Regions from separate parts of the Homo sapiens genome. Here region 2 is linked to region 1. Evidence: promoter capture Hi-C in 16 types of primary human blood cells and fetal thymus (Javierre and others, 2016). All regions are on one chromosome and are shown on one strand. Each heading gives the region's core, a stretch centred on a gene start or on the middle of the fragment in contact. The rest is flanking DNA. Distances are from core to core; before and after follow the strand shown.

What was found. The method cuts DNA at HindIII sites, captures the fragments that hold promoters and counts their contacts. A CHiCAGO score of 5 or more calls a contact.
Region 2: a contact is called between a fragment that was not itself captured here and the fragment with the promoter of CTIF in region 1, in 1 of 17 cell types (activated CD4 T cells). The highest score is 6.5, in activated CD4 T cells.

The regions. Positions count from the first base shown.
Region 1 is chr18:48,537,781-48,542,491 of GRCh38, reverse strand. CTIF (cap binding complex dependent translation initiation factor) reads right to left here and starts at 3,461. Exons shown (of 12, transcript NM_014772.3): 1 at 3,180-3,461. RefSeq lists silencers at 1,096-1,575, 1,896-1,985, 2,416-2,775, 3,276-3,355. The HindIII fragment of the contact is 7,178 bases long and covers 1-4,711 here.
Region 2 is chr18:50,379,231-50,383,941 of GRCh38, reverse strand. SKA1 (spindle and kinetochore associated complex subunit 1) reads right to left here. Exons shown (of 7, transcript NM_145060.4): 3 at 3,692-3,816; 4 at 1,716-1,813. Among named protein-coding and RNA genes, the nearest start is that of SKA1, 6.5 kb to the right of the region's middle. The HindIII fragment of the contact is 2,899 bases long and covers 1,229-4,127 here.

The sequences.
Region 1 (4,711 bases), core at 2,212-4,711:
ACATGTAGGTGCCCAGTACATATTGAGTGAATGGTTAATTAATTGATTAGTTGGCTAAACTTAATAACCCTCCAGGCTGTCTGACAGCCTTCACATGCATGAATTCTGAGAAATCCATGCAGGCATGTATAAGTTCTTTGCTCCTTGAATTCAATAAAGACTCAATGAACACAGCCATACAAACACAGGTAAGTGTTACATGAACAGGCATACCATATACATTTATTATATGCACATATGATTCTGGTAGAAACTGGATGTATCACAGCTGCTATCCATTCACCAACAGCAAATTATTAAATGCGTGGTAATAACAGCAATGCAGACTTCCGTTCTTTAGTGGCTGCTCTCATTAGGAATGGTTAACAAATCAAGAGTGTTTTGAGAAAGAATATGTGTCAGCATAATATACTCTATTTTTTAGCTTCAGTATTTCCTGAGGTGTCAAGAATCCATACTCAGAAAAAAAGTGGCCACTATTAATTAAATGCCATAAGCTGAGAAAAGGGGGAATGTGGCCCTTCCCCCACCCAGAGGCCTTATGCAAGCCACATTTTTGAGCCTCAGTGTGTTCATCCGTAAAATGGGGCTAATACTCTCCTACCTCACAGGACCCTCTTAATAAATGCTATGATATCTGGCGGGGGAGGGGGGAGGTTCTGGGGGAAGAAAACCTGCCCTGTAAGGTCATACAAACATATTATTATTCTAGCAAGCTGTTAATCACTGATGACACTGTGCCCTAGAATGTGTTACAAAATTGCTGCCTCTGAGCATCCATTATCCAGGACAGATACTTGACACAGATGAGGTGATCTGTGTGTAAATCGAATCCTGTGTCAAACACTCAGGAGTTTCCCCAGACAACCTGAGCGTGTCCTGGCCATCCTCTAGCGTCTGTTCGGTGCATTCTGTTCACGTATAATTGGGTTTTCTTGAAAGCCAGGCCATCTCCTCGCGCAGCCCGAGCCTGCTAGGAGCCTGGATTCCTGAGGTTTTCAGCCCAGATCGGGCCCTGGGCAGGAGGAACTGGGAACGGACAGCCGGCGGCCCCTCCCTGCGCTCTGGGCGGCTCCTTCCTCTCGGCCCTGGCTCCAGCAGCGGCGGCGCTCTCTCGCGCTGTGTCACTTTCGCCCTACGGAGGCTCTAGCCGCGGCCGAGCCGGCGGCTCCAGCGGCTTCCTCCTTGGTCGCGCGGGCCCCTGGACTGGGGGATAATCCTCGGGCCGCAGAGACACAGCGCCGGGCGGGCGGCGGCCTGGGCCGGGCTGGGGCGCGCTGGGCTTGGGCTCCCACTGTCCCCAGACTGAAGAGCCGGGGCTGCGGTTGGCAGTCGCTGACTCTCTCCCCGGTCTGCGAAGGCAGCGGCGGCGAGCGCGGGCACGCACACCCATAGAACGCCTCGGTGCGGGGTCACCCCAGCGTGGACTGGGGGCGGCGCAGCCAAACCAACCCCCCGCGCCGCCGGGTGGACCCCCAGTCTGCCGGGTCACGGGGCGTCGCGGACGCGGAGGGAGGGGCTGTGTGACTCCGGCCGCACAGCGGACCTGGGACTCCTGCACCGAAGACCAGCACACGCGACCCTACGGTCTTCCCCGGCCCACAGCCGCACGGTCCCCTCTCCAAGTAACTCGGGCGCGCGCGCGCGGGGACACACGACCCCGACTTAGACAAGGAGGGGGCTGGCGGGACAGGTCGCGCGGAGGATCGGGGCCCACGCTTGTCCCCACTACGCCGCGGTCTGCGGTCCCCGCCCCCCACACACACCGGAGCCGTGTGTACACACAAACAGCCGGGCGGGGGAGGCGACGCCTCACTCCTCGGGGTGGAGACGCACGCGGCGCCGCCAGTCAGCCCTCCCCTCTACACGCCGCACACCCCGCGGTGCTCACACCCCCCAGCCCCAACCCTGAAAACTCCGCGGAACCAAACAGAGCCAACGCCGCCCAGATAACGGGCTCGGACCACCCCCCTCCCGATTGTCTTTTACCATCAATAGAGAAACACTCGGCTCAGGCGCGCGGTGTCCCGGACGCCCCCTCCGGCCACATCCAGGCACCGGCACGCGGCCCTCCGAGGCCCCAGACCTTCGCCGCAGCCCAAGCCATCGCCCCCCCGCCCGCCCTCCCCCATGACCGGCGCCCGGGACAGTTACCTGCTCGTCGTCCTGATGAACCCGAGCCGGAGCCCACCCCACGGCCTCTCGGGTCACTCGCCACCCAGAGGTGGCTTTTCAGAGCCTGTCAAGTGAACCCCTCTCCGCCGGGCGTATCTATTCCCCAGGCCCGATTGCACCGCAGCGACAGGAATAATAAAAAAAGCCAACAGAACCACAACCGTTGGGAATAACCAAAGGGGAGACCGCAACGGGTCCACCGATTTGGTTTCTTCCTCTGCTCCCATCCCCCGCTCCCCCCGCGGCCCGCGGGCTCACCGGGGACGCAGGGAGGGGGCTGCGCCCTGTCTAGACGACAGCCATCCACAGACATCCCCGAGCCCGCGGGGACGGGCGCGCACACTCACACACGCCCGCTGCCACAGACACAATCAGTCACCGGGGAAGGGAGGGGCGGCGTGGCGACACACTCTCGGGGTCCCTCCCGCAGCCCCGAGTGCCGCAGCCCCCGGCCCCCAAACGCCACCCCGAGACGGGCTCCCTACCTCGGCGGAGCGCGGTCTGAACAGCTGCAAGTTTGGCTGATACTAAACCAACTGCTCGATGCAGCAAATGCGGGCTTCAAAACAAAAGGGAGAGGAATCGCGCTCGCTCTTTTCCTCCTCCCAGGTCGGAACCCGGCACATGACAGCGGCTACACCGCGCAGCTCCAAAGCGAGCCGGGCTCCAGCCGTGCGTCCCCCAAGAGCCCCCCTTGGCGCCGGAGCTCCAGGGCCACGACACCCCGCGGGGCGGGGAACCCGGCAGGGAATGGGACAAACCCAGGGAGGGGGCGACACTGTGGAGTGCAGTTCCCCACCGAGGGGGAGGAGGGGATGGTAGATGGGTGCGGACACCCCGCTGGCCCAGGAGCAGGGATGGGGGGAAGGGGGCTGATTGTTTGGGGCGGTTTTCCCGGATTTATCTATAAGCACGCCCACGTCACGCAGCCCTCCTCCCGGGTCCCCGAATCGATCAGCAAGCTGAGATGACTATAAGAGGAGGACGGGCGAGGAGATGCTCACCTCGGGGTTCCTCTGGCCGCCGCGCCAAGCCCGAGTCGGGGGTGGGGGAAGGGGGCAGGGAAGGGGAAGGGAGGGACGAGGCTCCGGAGAGCCGACTCCTGCCTCGAGTTCGGAGCGTCCCAGCTGCGGAGGGGATCGGGCGCCCCAGCGCACAGACCCAGCAGAGAGGGGAGGGAGGGAGGGAAGGGAAACAGGGAGGGAGGGGCGGGTAGGGGGGAGGGAGTAGAGGAAGGAAAAAAAATGATCCCTGATCTGACACAGGGAAAGAGAATGTAGGAGAGTGACGTTCAGGCCCCGCCCTCCCCTCCGGCCACGTGCAAAGACTTGAAAGGAAAGAGGGCGGCTGGAGGCCTGCTGGGTAATGTAGTTCGCCTTTCTTTTCCAGGATGGCGGGCCCTGGAGAGCAGGGTGGCCCCAGGACGCTCGGGATGTCGCCTTAGCTGCCAAGACAGCCCAGTCTAGCGACGCCAAAACCCGCCGCCCAGCGACCCCACGGCGCTGGCGCAGCCCTGGGTGGGGGCCTCTGCGGTGGGAGAACTGGGGGCTTAGGCGCAGTCCAGGCTTACAGGGAAACGTTGGTTTTAGAGTCCGAAAGGCTTTAAGGATGAGAACGTCCGTGCCGAAAGTGCAAAGTCTGTGCTAATGGCAGATGAAAAGGAGCTTTGTGTATGCACTGGGGGGCCCAAGTGGCGTGATTAATGCTGCACTAAATGCCACCGTCGGTTATTGAGATGCATATGTTATAATTAACATTTGAGCATCTCTGTGTCGGGGGCTGGCTGTTGTAATTAGATACGCACTTTGCAACCAATTAATTTTCCTTCGGCCAAGCTAAGGGCTGGGACGGGGTGGTTGGGAGAATTCAACGTAGTGGATAATTCAGTAATGACTTAACCAGATCACCAATGTTTTGGTTAAAACTGAGCTTGGCACAGAGAGGCCTTCAGGAGAAATACTGAATAAAATACTGTATGCCCCAACAGGGAAGGGGGCTAGAAATTCATTAGAGGAACTGTGTGATGCAGTATAAACTGCTGTAGAAACCCATTTATTCATTAGTTTATATTCACATTTAGTGAGCACTTTCCACAGACCAGGTGTGTCTAGGAATGCCAAAACAGGTAAGACTCACAGTCTCTGCGCTCAAGGAGCTCAGTCCAGTATTAGGGACTACAGTCAATGAAAGTATTATACAAGGGATAAGTCAGCGCTTAACACAAAGTGCTGTGAAATTCCCCCCACCACACAACCTGGAGCAGCCAACTGGATGGAGGGTGGGTGGGGTCTGGGAGAGGGTCAGGAAGACTTCCTGGAGGAAGTGATACTTGAGCAAAGAATTTCTAAGTTTTTTTTTCTTTTTTTTTTTTTTTGGAGACTGAGTCTCTCTTTGTTGCCCTGGCTGGAGTGCAGTGGCGTGATCTTGGCTCACTGCAAGCTCTGCCTCCCTGGTTCATGCCATTCTCCTGCCTCAGCCTCCCAAGTAGCTGGGACTTCAGGCGCCCGCCACCACACCTGGCCAATTTTTTTTTTTT
Region 2 (4,711 bases), core at 1,429-3,928, 1.8 Mb before region 1:
GACTCGGCCACGCTGCACGCTGTCAAGATAAAGATGCCCAATGCATGATAATCCTTCTGTGAATCCTAACATATGAGATTCCACTGTGAGACTGGCTGAATCGTACCTGTACTTGTTTGTCTTGACCATGTGTTGAGGAAGCACCTGATTGGCTCCCTTATGCCCTGCTGTGTTTATCAGCTGAAAATAACCATTTTCAACTACAGAAAGGTTCTGCTCTCACCTATCCCTGAGAGTTGAGGCTAGGCCATAGTCAGCTTAGAAGAAAATTCCTCCTATTCCCCTGATCAAATTCTTACTGGATGTCCAATGACAGGTAATGGCTGAGAAAGAGCAAGACAGGATAAAGATGCCAAGTCCTCACCGAGGTGATGGGAGGATATGTGGGGAACAAGAGAAACAAGAGAGCCAGGTCTTCAAGATGGAAAATTTGAGGAGAAAATAGCAGGCCATTAAATCGCTGGAACTAGATGTCATATCAAGGCTAGAGCTGGACATTTGAGAGCATTAACAGTGGAGTTGGGTAAGAATGAGTAAAGCAGGTAGGAGAGATCTATAATTTAAAAAAGGGGAGAGAAAAAGGAGGCAGCCAAGTCAGAGAAGTGGGCTGACAACTAAGAAAGCACAGTGGCAGGGCAGAAAACAGAATTTCAAAAACAAAAAGGTGGTATGCAAAATGAAATCTTAGAAGTAGAACCAGGGCTGACGAGGGATTTTTGACCTCTTCATGACCTTCAACCACCCTAGGTGTGGTGGCAATGACAGCCAAAAGCCAGGTGTTAGGGCCTCGGGGAAAAAGCAGAAGCACAGACACACCTTGTAAGGGGGAAGAGAGAGAGGATGGACATTTGAGGGGAAAAAAGAGCTAAGCTTATTGTTCCTTTGGCTTTTATTTATTTATTTATTTTGAGGCAGGGTCTTACTCTGTCGCCCAGCCTGGAGTGCAGTAGCACCATCAGGGCTCACCGCAGCCTTGACCTGCCAGACTCAAGCAATCCTCCCGCCTCAGCTCCCTGAGTAGCTGGGACTACAGGGGTGTGCCACTGTGTCTGGCTAATTTTTTGTATTTTTAGCAGAGATGGGGTTTCACCATGTTGCCCAGGCTAGTCTCAAACTCCTGGGCTCAAGCAATCTGCCTGCCTTGGCTTCCCAAAATGCTAGGATTATAGGCGTGAGCCACTGTGCCCAGCCTCTTTAGCTATTTTTAAAATGGTAACTTCCTTAAGCTTATTTTTACCCAAAGGCAGTGGTTCTCAATGGTCGGGGAAGATTTTGCCCTCAGAGGCATTTGGCAATGTCTGGAGACATTTTTCATTGTCGTGAATGGGTGGGATGGAGGGATGCTACCAGAATCTAGTAGGCAGAGATCAAGAACACTACTCAATGTCCTATTCTCATAACAAAAAATTAACCTGCCTAAAATGTCAAGGAACAAACGTCAGTTGACAAACTGCTCTCAGGGAAAGAAATGAGTGAAAAAAGAGAGGCTAGAGAGACTTGCCCTTGGCAAACTGGGAAAGAAGTGTTAGATTTTCCTCAGAGACACCAAGATAAGAAAACTGGTGAACATGGAAATACTGTTTTTAGTATAGGTGACAAAAAACTAGATCATCGCTGACAAAACTGCAAGTATATGAAAGAACAAAAGGCTTTGAAGAACTTGTTTTCATGGGTTTATAAATCCAGATAGCAAGAATAATTATAAATACACTTACCAGCTCTGGGTTACTGTTACTTGAGGCAAATGGGAAGGAACGTTTTCTTTAAGATGTTCTATGTCTTTGTAATCTTCTTCAAGAGATTCACAGAGTTCCTAAAATTTAAAAGTGCTCACAAATAAGTCTCTGTCCTCCCCATGTGTGTTTTAAGATATTCTAAAGAGCAGGGAAAACAGTGAACCATAATCACAGTGACTGTGGCTGGACGCGGTGGCTCATGCCTGTAATCCCAGCACCTTGGGAGGCTAAGGCGGGTGGATCATGAGGTCAGGAGATCGAGACCATCCCCACTAACACTGTGAAACCCCATCTCTACTAAAAATACAAAAATTTAGCCGGGCGTGGTGGCACGCGCCTATAGTCCCAGCTACTCAGGAGGCTGAGGGGGGAGAACTGCTTGAACCTGGGAGGAGGAGGCTGCAGTGAGCTGAGATCGCGCCACTGCACTCCAGCCTGGGCGACAGAGAAAGGCTCGTCTCAAAAAAAAAAAAAAAAAAAAACCACATTGACTGGAGTACCGAAAATGCAGAATGAAGTGAAAAAGCAATGAATCCAGCAATAAAAAATTGGTTTCTAGAGCTGTTTTTGGATGGTGGTAATATTTTTCTCTACTGGATTTTTTTCAGGGAACAATCACTATAATCACATTGCAATTACAAAGCAGGACTAAAGTTAAGTCTTTCTCAAATACTTTAATCTTGGGAGATAACTAAGAAATATATAAAGAACTTATGTTTTTCATTCTCATAAATTGCGTTTGTTGGCTTACCAAATGCTCCCCAGTGTTACCTGTGTAACAGCAACCATATTATCACAGCATGGTAATATACCCAGCTGGCAAGCATGAGATGCTGCTTTAGGATGACTTCCACTGTGGGCTACCTACATGCCAGCTTAATGAAAATTTCTACTTGAAAGCTGGGGTGTTTTGGTCTCTAACTTTTACTAGAACTTGAGGCTATGAACTCATACACATTTTAATAAGGAAAATATTTTGTGCCTTTGGATTCCCGCCATCTGGCTCCCAATCACAATGTGAACAGAAATTCCAAATAGCCTTCAGTTCTGAGTTGAGCATTCTCTAGGCCCACACCTAACCCTGGACATTCTTGGGCAGGTTAGAACTGAAATGCCGGTATTGGTTTCTGTTTTGAATTTATATAATGTCTTTTCCTTGAAGAGGTGAATGACATTCATGGATACCAATTCCATTTTGACTATTAGAGTGATAGGCATAATCATGCCCATTCCTATAGCTGAACAATCTTTACAGACTTTAAGGATTATAAGGCTGAATGGGGTCAGGGAGGTCCCTTGTTCAATCCCACTGAGCAATTCCCCAGCTCTAACAATGTGAGGTAATTATGGTACAGATTATTTCCCCCTCAGGAAGTGCACCAGCACTTTTATTAGCTGAACTCAATTTGAAGGCTTGTTTAGAATAAAATGTGCATGTGAATGAGGCTCAAGTTTTTCTTTACCTGAGAACCCTTATATTACCTTTTATAAAAATATAGAAATATAGACATATAAGGGAGCTAAGAAACAGTTCAATATGATCCATTATTTTTTCAGATGAGGTTCTTGAAACCCCAACAGGTAAAATAGCTTTCTCAGGGTGGCAGAGAGTACCAAGGACCACCAAGGTAAGAATCCATATCTCCTCACCCAAAGCAGGTGTTCTTTACATACCACTCTACTAGAACATCATTGTTTAAATTAAAGCTACCAAGAATTATTAGCAAACTCTCCTTTTTAGTAAAGTTCAATTCCACTGGCCATCAGCAGAAAGTAGCAGCTGTGGAGCTCCAAATTCCACTATACTAGGAAAATAAAACATAAATGGCATACTGTACCATTAATAATTTATAAACAAAAAACATTATAAACAAAGCATCCTTAAAAATTACTTAATGATTAGGGAGTTTGTATGTATTGTCTTTTTTACTGCTTCCTCATTAGAGAAACATTACCTTGAGTGAATTGTTGGTTTGTTCTTGATACTGAATTTCCAATTCCAATTTATTTAGAAGTTCATTTATTACAATGATCTCATCTCCTATTTTATTTAATACAGTTTTCAAGGTAGGTTCCTGGCCTGTTATAAACAAAAATAAAATAGAAAACAAAGTGTATAGAAAAGCAGTAGCTATAAGTACTCATGCGAACTCTTAGAATAGATAGCTGTACCTTAGAGAGGGGTGGAAAAAGGTCTACTGCTTTAGCCCCTAGAAAATGACTCCATGGACAATCCTGAAACCTCATTTCTAAGTAGTATGGAACAGAAGGAGGCGAGAGGCAAGGACAATGTCTCTCCTGCGTCTTTTGTTTCTGGCAAATTCTTCCACTTATTAAAACACTTAGAAATGCGAGGTAAAACAAGCATCCTTCTACGTCCACAGCTAAGCTTTCATGAGAAAAAGGCAAATTTCCAGGGGTTCCAATATGAAGAGGGAACTGTGGTTCCCCCTCATACCAGGCAGGGTGTGTGAGCTGAGGCTGCAGCAGCCCTAATCTGAGGAGTGTGGAGCAATGCTGGACAGGAGGTTGTCAATCTCAGCAATTGAATATATTTGATTTTAATAGGGATAAGATCCAAGGTTTTGGGGCTTTAAAACACAGGGTGTTGGAAGTGAGAATCTCAAACGAGGCTAGGACTCTTCTTTATGAATATATTTTCAGTGAAAGTTGTAATCACTCACCAGAGAAATAAGCTTATGTTTTAGACAGGCCCTTCAGTGTGTGTGTGGAAGGGGTGGGAGTGAGGTTGAGGTGAAACTCTCTTTCAGAATTTGTAATATGGATTTGGAATTCATATTAACACTATCCACACTATTCAAAACCACCCCTAAGCAGACAAAGTAACATAAAAAGTCACAAGCTGGTGATAACCCTGGGTACCTGGCAAAAACAAACATAAGACATTTATAAAGTAGTATATTCTCATGGTCCCAATCCCACCTCCTAGCACCCCTCTCTAGGTGAGAAAATCA